Regions from separate parts of the Homo sapiens genome. Here all the other regions are linked to region 2. Evidence: promoter capture Hi-C in human tissues and cell types (Jung and others, 2019). All regions are on one chromosome and are shown on one strand. Each heading gives the region's core, a stretch centred on a gene start or on the middle of the fragment in contact. The rest is flanking DNA. Distances are from core to core; before and after follow the strand shown. Region 1 overlaps CNTN2 (contactin 2). Region 2 holds the start of NFASC (neurofascin). Region 3 holds the start of LRRN2 (leucine rich repeat neuronal 2). Region 4 overlaps LRRN2-AS1 (LRRN2 antisense RNA 1).

What was found. The method cuts DNA at HindIII sites, captures the fragments that hold promoters and counts their contacts. A contact is called where the count stands out against the background at its distance.
Region 1: a fragment that was not itself captured here is called in contact with the fragment with the promoter of NFASC in region 2 in 1 of the 25 tissues and cell types used here (hippocampus).
Region 3: a contact is called between the fragment with the promoter of LRRN2 here and the fragment with the promoter of NFASC in region 2, in 1 of the 25 tissues and cell types used here (pancreas).
Region 4: a contact is called between a fragment that was not itself captured here and the fragment with the promoter of NFASC in region 2, in 1 of the 25 tissues and cell types used here (H1 embryonic stem cells).

What each region holds. Positions count from the first base shown.
Region 1 is chr1:205,055,442-205,058,301 of GRCh38, forward strand. It overlaps CNTN2 (contactin 2), which reads left to right. Exons shown (of 23, transcript NM_005076.5): 3 at 2,480-2,624; 4 at 2,740-2,860. Among named protein-coding and RNA genes, the nearest start is that of CNTN2, 14 kb to the left of the region's middle. The HindIII fragment of the contact is 5,062 bases long and covers 1-2,860 here.
Region 2 is chr1:204,827,201-204,830,074 of GRCh38, forward strand. NFASC (neurofascin) reads left to right here and starts at 1,452. Exons shown (of 30, transcript NM_001005388.3): 1 at 1,452-1,582. The HindIII fragment of the contact is 4,389 bases long and covers 1-2,874 here.
Region 3 is chr1:204,684,321-204,687,163 of GRCh38, forward strand. LRRN2 (leucine rich repeat neuronal 2) reads right to left here and starts at 1,418. Exons shown (of 2, transcript NM_201630.2): 1 at 1,000-1,418. The HindIII fragment of the contact is 8,916 bases long and covers 1-2,843 here.
Region 4 is chr1:204,572,507-204,575,605 of GRCh38, forward strand. It overlaps LRRN2-AS1 (LRRN2 antisense RNA 1), which reads left to right. Exons shown (of 13, transcript XR_007066814.1): 3 at 1,181-3,099. Among named protein-coding and RNA genes, the nearest start is that of LRRN2-AS1, 9.9 kb to the left of the region's middle. RefSeq lists an enhancer at 262-962. The HindIII fragment of the contact is 9,492 bases long and covers 1-3,099 here.

The DNA of each region.
Region 1 (2,860 bases), core at 235-2,734, 230 kb after region 2:
GTGCCTGCATGGAGGTGGTACTACGCTGGGGATAATGAATGTGTCCAGAAAGTCTCACAGCACAGTGTGACCAGCTCTCATATCCCAGCCTCCCTGCAGAATGCCCAGGGGCATTTTCTAAGACTTGGTCTCCTGAGCCTCACTCCAAGAGATTCTGACTCCTTATCTGTGAGATGGAGCAGGGCCTCTGGTGGTTCTGATGGGAAACAGAGGTCAAGAGTCAGGAACAGTGGGGTTAAGAATGCTTGTGGTGGGGTCAGCCTGGCCAAGGTCCAACCCCCCAGATCCGCTCCTTCTCGCTGTGGGATCTGGGGCAAGTTATTGAAGCTTTCTAACTGTCAGTTTCCATGTCAGGAAAATAAGAAAATGGCAATACCTATCTTGTAAAGAGGTTATGAGAAGGAAATATGGAGCATGGTATGGGATAAATAGTAAGCAGTCCGTCTATAGCACCTATTTTTATTATTATGAATGCATGGATTATATATAAAAGTCTCCATGGCCATCTATAGCTGTGTGTCAGGGGGGAATGGATGTGTGTGTAAATGTATGTATCTTGCCATTTGAGCAGCTTAGGGAGGTGCATATGTACGAATGTGTGTATGACATGAGCGTGCATATAAGAAAATGTGTGTAGGTGAGAGATGCGAAGGGGTGTGTATGTGAATATTTGGGTGAGTGGACAGCTGAGAGCAGAGGAGAAAGGTTTCTCGGGAAGAAAGAGTCTGAATGTATCAACATGCCCTGAGCCCACTCAGCCACCCCATCACCCAGCGTTCCTGGAAGCTGCTATTGTACTAGGTGGTTCCCAGCAGTCCGGCTGCCTCCCAGCGCCTCCTTTGCCTCCCCTCCCAGCAGTGCCAGCTGGGGCAGGATTCCTACCGTACACCACCATCATTAACTTGGGATTAAGCTGGACTTTCCAGCCGAGATGATGCCGTCACCGCCCGCCGCCTCCGCCTCTGAGGCCTGGGGCGGCAGTGAGGGAGAATGGCACAAGGGATGCCTGCACCGGGCCATTCCTGGGAGCCCTGCCTCCTACCTCATTCTGAGAGCTGCTTAGCAGCTGCCCTCACTCCCAGGGGGCCAAGGCTGGGCCTCAGCTGCAGCATGGGGCCACCCCCTACCCCTGGAAGAGGACTGATGGCTGGATGCGCTGGGAAAGGAACTAATTAGTTAATGGGGATCCCTTTCCCCATGACCCACCAAGGAAGGCCTGAAATCAGCTGCGTTAAGAGGTAGAAGCCAATTAGGGATAGCCTGGCTCCCACCTGACACCGCAGAAGCAAAACGGACTGGCCCCACCAGTCAGCAGAGAGCCCACCCCAGCCCTGTCGAAGGGCAGGTGTGATGTCCGGCCAATCTGTGGCTCTTCATCCCCTGCCCTGCCCTGCAGCAGGACAATGATGCATGAAGAGAGAGGAGTCTGCCCCATTTGCCTGTGTGGTGCTCATTGGTCCACCAAGCTCAGGAGGAATTGATCTGTCTGTGCCACAGACTTGCTGGGTGACCATGGGCAAGTCACTCCCTTTTCTGGACATTTCTTGAATTGTGATACTGGAATTGTATAAAACTGCCACCAAAGCAAACTGCCCACCCTCCACCCACCATAAGGCAATCCTTCTCCTCCAAGTCCCCACCCCACATGTGGCTCCAGCAGACATCTGCTGAGCACACTCTCCGTGCCCGCCACCTTCCAAGGGTTTGTCTGGCTGAATCCTCATGCAGACCCTGGGAGGTGAACTCATATTCTTTTCATTTCACAGGTGAAGATACTGAGGCTCAGAAGAGTTCTATAACTTTCCCAAGGTCCCACAGCTAGTAGAGGGCCAGCCTAGTCCCCAGGCCCAGGCCTCGTTGGTCCACACTGCCCCAGTAAGGGTATTAGGCTCCAGGGACACACATCCTCTCTGCATGTTTGTGGCTGGCGACGTCTCATGCACCTCACACCCCACAGATCAGTTCTTCTGTAAGGGTCCCTTGAAAGCCCCCTGGGAGGTAGAACTGCTTCCATTCTGAGGCCCCAGCATCTTGAACTTTATGGCATTTGCTACCTTGCACTGTCAATTTCCTGTCTCCCTCCTTGGACCGCAAGCCCCTTGAAGAAGAGGGACTGTGTCTTAATCATCTTTACAAGCCAGTCTCTAGCCCAGTGCTGGGTATAGAGCAGGTGCTCAATACCTAAGTGTAGGATGGGTGATTGATTGAACTAGTATGGCCAGATGGGGCCTGCCCAGCCTATTTAAATTCAAATTTAAATTAATTAAGTAATATAAAATGTAAAATGTCGTTCTTCAGTCGCAATAGCCACATGTCAAGTGCTCGATAGCCCTACGTGGCTAGTGGTTACCACATTGAACAGTGCAGAAAATGGGACATTCCCATCATCAGAGAAAGTTTTACTGGACAGCACAGCCCAAGAGGCCAGGCTCCAGCCAGGCCAAGGCTCTGAGGCATCTGGTGGTGTCATCACCTGCAGCTTGGAGTTCAGCCCTGGGATCCCAAACCACCTTCGGGCCTGTCTTTGAAGACCAGCCCCTCAGTGTGCTATTCCCAGAGGAGTCCACGGAGGAGCAGGTGTTGCTGGCATGCCGCGCCCGGGCCAGCCCTCCAGCCACCTATCGGTAAGGCCTCTGCAGTGGGTGCTGGGAGGCCCTGGGCAGCCGTTGAACTTTCCCTCTCATCAGCCCTGCCACCAGGCAGGACTCAGAGGTCCCCTTCCTCTGTCCCCTGCTGCAGGTGGAAGATGAATGGTACCGAGATGAAGCTGGAGCCAGGTTCCCGTCACCAGCTGGTGGGGGGCAACCTGGTCATCATGAACCCCACCAAGGCACAGGATGCCGGGGTCTACCAGTGCCTG
Region 2 (2,874 bases), core at 202-2,701:
ACCACCGAGGCCAAGGAAACACCTTCACCCTCAGGGCCTCTGGGGGTCACCATGCTCCCTTTAGGCCCACACTTAATTTCTTTATACTAAGGCCATGAAACTTGAGTCCCAGTTCAGTTTCAACCACCAAACCACTGTGTGGGGTCCATCTCTCTAGACCTTCGTGTATTTGCTGTTTAAAAGTAATGAAGAAAGGGGAGGGAAGGCTGAACAATAATTAACATTTGTAAAGAACAGTTTGGTTCAGTACCTTATCTCATTGATGCTCACTCTATGCCCATTTTACAGATGGGAAAAAGAAGACTTAGAGAGGTTAAGTGAACTGCCCAAGTTTACCCTGCTGGTAAGCCAGGACTTTCTTGGCAAATCCTGTGATCCTTCAACTTGACCATATTAGAAGATTCTAGTATTGGTGAAATCTAAAACTTGTAGGGCCCATCTTAAAATAGCAAAGTAGTTTTAACTAGGCACTGTCAGATGCATCTGGGCTTTGAATTATTACTTGGGCAGGTTCCTTGAACTTTGGTGTTCTCATCCAGAATAAAAGACAGTGGTGCCAGGGTAGGAGCTATGAGCACAGAGAAAGTAGCCCTTGAATGGGGCCACAGAGGGATGCTGCAGGGGACTGTAGTTTTGGATGAGGAGCTGAACTAGAAGCTTCCAAGTGCTCTTCCAAGACAAAGATTCTATGATTCCCTAACTGGGATCTTTCCACTGTTTCAGGTGATAATTCTGAGCTCAGATCCTGTGCACAGAACCTAATGCAGTCTTCGTGTCAGAGCTAGAAGAGACCTTGGGCGACCACCCAATCAACTTTTCATGGTTCAGTTGTGGAAACTGATGTCCACAGATAAATGTCTTGCTATCATGTCAGATAGTTCTCCAGCCACGACTGAGGCCTGAGTCCCCCTAGGGCAGAGGAAATCTCCCATTTCTAAAAGAAAGCCCCGCACTGTTCATAGCAGTCACAACCTCTCTCACATCCCTGAATCAGGATCCAACGACTTGCCAATCAACAAATGTTGCTGGAGAGTTTACCACAAACAAGTCTCTGTGCTAGGCCCTGAGAACACAAGCTGTCCGGCAACTTCCTGCTCCCTAAAGTCACAGTCTATGGTGGAGGTGCAAACAAGCGATCCTGTTGGGGCTTCAGGGTACTTCCTCCTGTGTGCTTTGCACGTAGTAGGTGCTCAGCGAACGGAAACGGGGAGACTAGTTATCACTCTCCAGGCAAGCCCGCAAAGAGGCCTCAGGTGAAAAGAGAAAGGAGGATTTTTTTTTCCGGCCCTGGCTCTGCGCACCGCTCCCCAGCGCGCCAGGCGGGGCTGCGTCCGGAGCATCCTTCCCTCCGCCTCTGTCCTGGTCCCCGCTCAGCGGCCGCTAGGAGCGCGAAGGGAGGGGCGCGGGGGCGCGCACGCAGGGTGTCGGGGGCGCGCCGGCCGCCCGGGGACGCGCACGGGCTGGTCTCTGCCCTAATGCGGCGGCTGGCGGCGAGAGGCGCTGCAGGGGACGCGGGGGAAGTGGCGGCGCCGGCAGCGGACAGCTCGGACAGCGCCCAGGGCCGGAGCCCGAGCCCTTGGAGGTAGGCGAGCGCGAACACCGGAGAGATGGGGGTAGAGAGTCATGGAAACCCACCTAGCGACACCCCCTTGTTCCCGCCCTCGTCTGTCTCCATCCCCTGACCTGCCCCCTCCCCCTCCGTCCACATTCCCATCCCTTCCCCTCTCCACACTGTCACCTGCCCCGAATCCATCCGATTCTGTTCGTATGCCCACCCCGTCCCCGTCCAGCTCCCAGCCCCCTGCCCACCCCAACACCCTTTCTATCTCGTTGGCCGCGTCCCCTCCCCCTTCCCGCATCCTCAACCCTTTCCCTTTCCTCTCTGTCCCCGCCTCATCCGTGAGCCCTGCCTGCCCTTGTACTTCTGTTTACCTCGACACCCCACTTTGGATGACCCCATGCCTCCTGTATTTCCTACCGCACACATCAGCCCCTTCTTGCCTCCCCTATTCTCTTCCCCATCTCATGCCCCTACCAGTTGGTGTCCTGTCTCTCCATTTGCTCCCTCAGTTTCTGTCCTCCCCTGGTTCCCCCTTGCACGCCCTGTCCCAGCCCCTTCCCAGCTGCCTCTTGGTGTCCTCCTGCATCACAGTCCCTCTCAAGAACCCCGCCTTCTCCCCCCTTTGGCTGTTAGCTGGCCTGACACCCGTCACCTTCCCTAGCTGCCCTTCCTGGTGCTGTGTGGAGCCATACAGCCTGTACCCAGCCCTCCCTCAGTGGCCTCTGGACCCCCCTTCCCTGGGTGGGGATCTTGGTTGTGGAATATAACCCCTTTCTGCATGTTCGATCCTATTTGTGGCTTGGGGAAGAATGCTGGGGGTTAGTAGGCCTCTCTCTTATGTTCCTCTCCAGCCATGCAGCCACTCTACTCCTCTAGCTGTTCAGGTTTGTTTCCTAGATGGATTGGGGGAGGGGGTGCTAGGCATTGGGAAACTAGGATGGGGAAGGGGCAGGGTCCAGGGGAATGACTGAGCAGACTCCTCCTGGGGCTTGGCCTGAGCCCTGATGTAAAGGCCTGGATGAGGAGCCCTGCTGGAGGGCTGGATAATTTTGGATTTTAGAAAAGATTCTGCTTCAGCCTCCAAGTCAGCACTTTGGCATCTGGAGCTGTCATGAGTGTGGCCCATGGGCTGGGCCAAGAGTGGGCAGAGTGCTGAATCACCTAGAATCTGGTCCCCATGGCAGCCCCCATCCTGTCCTGAGCCAGGTTCTGCTCCTGACTCCTTCCTTGGCATTTTGGCATGGGGTGTGTGTGTGTGTGTGTGTGTGTGTGTGTGTGTGTGTGTTGAGCAGAGATGCCTCATCCCTCAGTGT
Region 3 (2,843 bases), core at 168-2,667, 140 kb before region 2:
AGAAGCTGCGTTGGCTCCAACAGATGGGAGCTGCGGCAGCCTGAGGAACAGAGCACAAAGCCCAGCTGACATTTTCCTTCCTGTTCGTTTGGGTGGGGGAGGAAGGGTAGGGAGCACAGTGCTACCCCCGGGGCCCCTCCCCAGGTTCCGGGTCTCCTGCACCTCTTTAGCTTCTCCGCTCGGCCCCAGATGGAGCTCAGTTCCCTCACCCCGCGGCTCCTCGCCGGCTGGGCAGCCAGAGCCTGCGCCACCCTTTGCCAGCAGGACAGACGGCCCACCTGTGGCTGGCCAGCCCATCCTGTCTCCTGGGTCCTGCGGTGGGCTCAGAGCCACCCTTCCGTTTCCGCTTCCCCCTGACCGAGTCCCCAGGCTGAGCCCCAGGCCGGCCCATCCCCCACCCCAAAGGTCCCATCCCAGGCTGCGGTCGGACCCCAGCCAGCCGGCCCGGGAGGAGCCTAGCTCCTGGTTCCAGATACTTCAGACAGACCCAAGGCCACCTTGTCCCTCCGCACAGACTCGCGAGCTCCAAGGAGGAGAAAGTCCCCAGGCTCTGGAGCGCTTCCAGCCTGCCAGTCCGCCCGTGTCACGCCCTCCCTAACCTCACTGCCACCTCTCGGCTCCTCCACATCTCCAGGGCCCCACTCTACCCAGCAACAGTTTGGGGGAGGTTCTGGCCTCTCCAGGCGAAGGCCCAGGCGCCCTCTCCCTGGCCGCTTCTGGGCATTCTCCAGCCCTCCGTCCCTCTGCCCCTCGGCCGCCTCCCTCTCCCAAGTCTCCGGCTCCCCCGCAGGCGTCTCGGCGGAAGGCAGCGGCCGGCCCTCCTCTGGCCCCCACCCGGGTCAGGCGGAGCTGCGGTGCCGGGGCAGGAGCCAGGAGCCCTGAGGCGGCTGCTCCGGCCGCTCCCGCCGCGTACGCCTCGGCCACGCCAGCGACCTCGGTGTCCACGATTCCCCGGCGGCGGCGGCGCTGCCCAGGTCAGCCCCGAAGCTGCACACTCACCCCGTGGGCGCCGGGCACCGTCTGCCGTCTGCTGCCCGCGCGGCCGCGCTCCGCTCGCCTTCCGCCCGGGGCCGGGCTGGGGACGCTGGTCCGCGCCCTCCCGCCGCGCGCGCCGTCTGCACAGGCCGGGGAGGCTCGGCGGGCGCCCTCCCCAACGTGGAGTTATCCTGGGAGCGGCTCCAGGGCCCAGCCGGTGAGGGCGATGGCAGAATCCCAATCCGTCCCCACCCCCTCTCCGCGCCCTGGGCGCGTCGCGGCCGGAGGCTGGCGGGCGAGAGCCAGGCGCTCCTTGAGAGCGCCGCGCGTTCGCAGGTGCCCGGAGCAGGCCCTCGCGGCGCCCGGCACCCCCTCCACGCGCGCCCCTCTTCCCGGCTTCGCGCTCGCCCTCCTCACTCGCTTCTCCGCCGCTCTCCCAACCTCCCCAGCCCACTCCGGTCGCCTCCTCCCAGTCTGCATGCCACGCCAACCCCCTCCAGTCCCGCTGCCATTTTAACTCCTGAGTGGCCAGAGGCCCCCTCTACCTAACGCACACACACCCGGGAGGAAGGAGTTGGGTGGGGCCAGACGCTAACGCTTGAGCTGTCCTTGTGCCTAGAGACACAAGGCTTGGCTGAGAGAAGGGGCACAGCCCTTGGGTCCGGGAAGAGAAGGGTTGGCTTCTCTCATACTGCCTCGGACCCTCTTGCAAAGGCCAGGAGACGAATGGGGAATTCAGCAGCTTTGTGAGGACAGGTGCAGCTCACAGTCACAGCATGCACCTAAGATCACATTTTTGCTTTGCATGGTGCTACCCTCCCGAAGTTAACAGTGGACTAAGGAATGTAGTGGGGTGGGTGAGAATTTGTCACTGGGCCCAGGCACCTCTCACCCTAAAGAATGGAGTGGAAGACCCCTTTAGTTGTCATGCTTTTCCAGCATTGCATCCTGAGCCGTGCAGCTCTAGCATTCTGGAAGATTCCGTCCTGGCTCTCAATGAAGGAGGTCAATTTCAGTCAGGAACTGGCAGGCCCAGTTAGGGGTTTGGCTTCAGGGTTCCCCACTCTGCCAGCTGGACATCATGAAGACTGGGGGAGGAAAGTAAGAAGGTGCCAAAGGTGGGTGCTAGGCTGCTGCCTGGTGGCTTAGAAAAGCTGGGTGACTGCCACTAGAGGAGGGCAAAGGCCCAATGCCCAACACCCATGCCTTGGTGGGGACTTCAGCCTGGACCACTCAGAACAGACATCACAAACTCGGCTCCATGGCAGGCCACACCCTACTGATGGGTCTGGACCAGAGCCTGCAGAACCAACAACAGGGGAATGGATGAGGTGGAGGCCAAGGTGTGGAGTCCTGTGAGGAGTGGCTTCCCTGGGCTGCCTGCCGTCATCCAGTGCTTGAGCTTCTGGCCCTGTCTTTTCCAAGGGTACAGCCAGTGGTGACTGCCATGCCTGGTGGCTTTTGTGAAGTTGGCTTGAAGGTCTGAGTTCTGTATGCACAGAGGGGATTCTCACCTTCATATATTGAATGAGCACATATTAAGTTCCCACTAAACCACCCCCATGTTCCCACTCTCCACCCCTGCTACGGAGCATAATGGCCTCAAGGAGCTCAGAGTGACAGGTTGGAACTATATGAAACCAATTTTAATATTTCAAGACGATGGAAGTGCCATAGAAATACAAAAAGAAACCACCTTAATGGACTAGCATTATTCACAAAAGGTTTAACGGAGGAGCTGAGTCTCCAACTGAGCCTAGTTGGAGGGATAGGATTTGAACTGGAAGAGAATATGGGGACCAGCAAAGGCAGGAAAGTGGAGACAAGCAGAGTAGAATGGGTTGTCTGGAGGGTAGGGGGCAAGGGAG
Region 4 (3,099 bases), core at 79-2,578, 250 kb before region 2:
CCAAACCCCCGTCTCTACGAAAAAAATACAAAAATTAGCCAGGCGTGGTGGGAGGTGCCAATAATCCCAGCTACTCGGGAGGCTGAGGCAGGAGAATCACTTGAACCTGGTGAGGGCCGGGGGAGGGGTGGTGGAGGTTGCAGTAAGCCAAGATTGCACCACTTCACTCCAGCCTGGGCGAAAGCATGAAACTCCGTCTCAATCAATCAATCAATCAATCAATCAATAAAATAAATCCAAGGCCTAAATCCAAATCTCATGCTCTATCTGTGATCTGAGCCATGGAGTAGCCATTCTAATCAGGACTCTTTTTTTCTACTCCAAACTCATCACCACTGCCAAAATCCACTGCCAAGGGTTACACCTGGGCAAGGACATTGCTCCAGTTCAAATTCAAATGACCTGGGAGACAAAACCCACTTTTGTGAAAATATGTCAGAAAGAAATTGATCTGAACTTGGGAACAGGTTTTGATCCAAGGGCTAGTGTACAGCCCAGGGAGGGCCAGCGGAAGTAAGAAGACAGCTCCATCCATCAGGAGCCTCTGTGTTCAGGGGACAGTGGGCAGGGGGTGGGTTGCCAGGAGAGGGAAGAAGCTGGGGAGGATCAAGGGAAAAAGTTAGGGGAAGAGCGCTGAGAGTTCACGCCCACTCTCCTGCTTGGGCCCTGATAACTGGGGAAGATTCAGGGCAGAGAAAGAGGAGTTTACAGGTCTCAGGAACTGAGGTGGGTTACACCCAGTAAATGACTTCCTAAAGGTCAACTAGCCAAAGCCATGCCCTCCTCTGTGGCCTGGGCCAGGTGGGGCAGGCCAGGTGGATGCTGGGATGGCCCAGAGGGCAAATAATGGACAATGAACCAGGCCAGGGCAGCATCTCTGCTGGGCGGGAAAAACAGGAAGCTCAGGCACATGCAAGCCAGGTAAGTGTGTGTCTTGAAGATGGATGAGAGTTCCCAGACAAGGGTGACCTTTTCTTTCACCTCGTCCAGCTAGACAGACGTGGTGGTTCCAAGGCCCCTTGTCATCTGCTGATTGCTTTGTGATTAATGTACAAGTCACTTATTCCCATCTCCTGTCCCTGCTCCATTCTCCCCCAGCTCCCGGGCAGACTCTTCTGCCCTTAGGTAATTTACTTAGAAATGATTGTCCCTAGAATCTCTCCATGTGCTTTGTGTACAGATAGTGACCAGGTTCTGCATGTGATTTCCCTGTGGAATTCCAACCAAGGACAGACAGGTGAGTCACAGCACTATGGAGAGACTTAAATATCTGCAATGAGCAAAGCAAGGCTCAGCCGGGGGCAGACTCAGTCCTGCAGGAATTGCCCTTCTTCCTGCATGGTTTTGGGGTCAGCTGGAGAGCAATGAGTTTGCACATGCTGGTCATTCACCAGAGCTGCCTGTGGGGTCTCAACAGAGTTCCACCTAGAAGGGACAGCCTGACCCTGGTTTACCTGGGAACCAGAGAAAAGCAGCTGGAAGGCTACTCTCAAGTCACCAATACCAAGCCAGGTAGACCCTATCCCCTACAAATACAGGAAGCCAGTGGTCTCCAATGGACATTATTACTTCATTTTCACACATATTTTATTCACTTTGACCTGGGGCTCAAAACACAGACTGCATATAAAATGGGTTTGATGCTGATTTGGCTACATGGACTTCATAATTCATCAGAGCAGGAAAGACAGAATCATAAGCTGTTATTCATTCATTCAACAAATATTTACTGAACACCAGACAGGAGAGAGGGATTGCCTGTGTTAATTCATTAGGAAGAGCACATCGTATTAATAATACTTCATGCTGTTCAGCTTTTCGTGCTGCAGCAGAAATTATTTAATTACCCTTTACTTCCACCCCGGCCTCCCTACCTTCCACTACAGAGCAGTTGAAAATGTTTTTGTTCAGTATGGGGAAGCTTTGTAAGGTAAAGGACAGGCAGGAGAGAAAGAATGCTCTATTTGCAAAACAAGGCCAGGGGTGTGAGCTCTTGAAAGACAGAGCAAAGTTATGACAGCCGGAGGAATGTGAATTCCTCCAACAGACCAAATGGGAGCTTCAGAAAAAAATTAATCTGGTGGCAGAATATATCTGGCTTCAGACTTTTAAGTATGAAACTAGCTGCTGTGAGAATAGGAAGCCCACACTCAGAGCTCAGCCTGCCCTCTACAGAGCAGGCAGGCGTTCCTTTCCCTGGGGACTACGAAGAAGACAAGGGCTTCCGAAGGTGTCCCACACGCAGCCTCCCTCCTTCCCCAATTCCCCCTCCTGCTTCCACACTTATCTCTCCCCCAGTGAGTGATAGCCAAATCCTCTCCACTTGCAGATGTAGCCTTGGGAGGACAGCACAAGGGGATGCAGCCCTGGAGCAGCAGCAGGTGTGGCCCATCTGGACTCACCACTGCTGTGGAAAGGGGCCCCGGCCAGCTGGCCCTGTGGGCTGGAATTAGAGCAGTCGTAATGGGCTGTGTTACACAGTGTGCTCTTCTAATCAGATACATGTGGACATTAACTAATTAACGGCAGCCCTGTGAGTTAAGTATTGTGATGAGTGAATTTGACAGATGAAGTACAGAGAAGTTAAATGACTTGCTTGGGGTCACACTGCTAGCAAGGGGTGGAACAGGGATTTGAATCTGGGCAGTTTGCCTCCAAAGTCCTCATAATTAACAGTGATCCATTCTGCCCTCCTATCTGACCATTTCTCTTATGTTAGACTCTTTTGAATGCAAGTGACAGAAACCCAAGCTAAGGATGCTCCAGGCAAGGAAGCAGCATTTGCAAGGCTTGGAGACCCAAAAGAAGGAAAGCGGTCAGGGAGGGTTCTAAGTTACTGGAAAGAGAGACAGAGGGAAGTCACAGGAGGACCTTCAATTGGGTCAGGCACAGGGAGGCAGGGGCTCACCGCCATGGCCTGAGCTGAGGACACCAGTTGTCACTGGGGCTGGATGTGAGGAGAGACACTAGGGGACTAAGCATGGCCTGGAACCTGCTGCCTTCCTTGGCCCGCGCTCCTCACACCCTCCTACTCCCAACTCTCCTCTCTTTCCTCATTTATTATTATTATTTTTATTTTTTTGGTGGTTTTTCCAAATC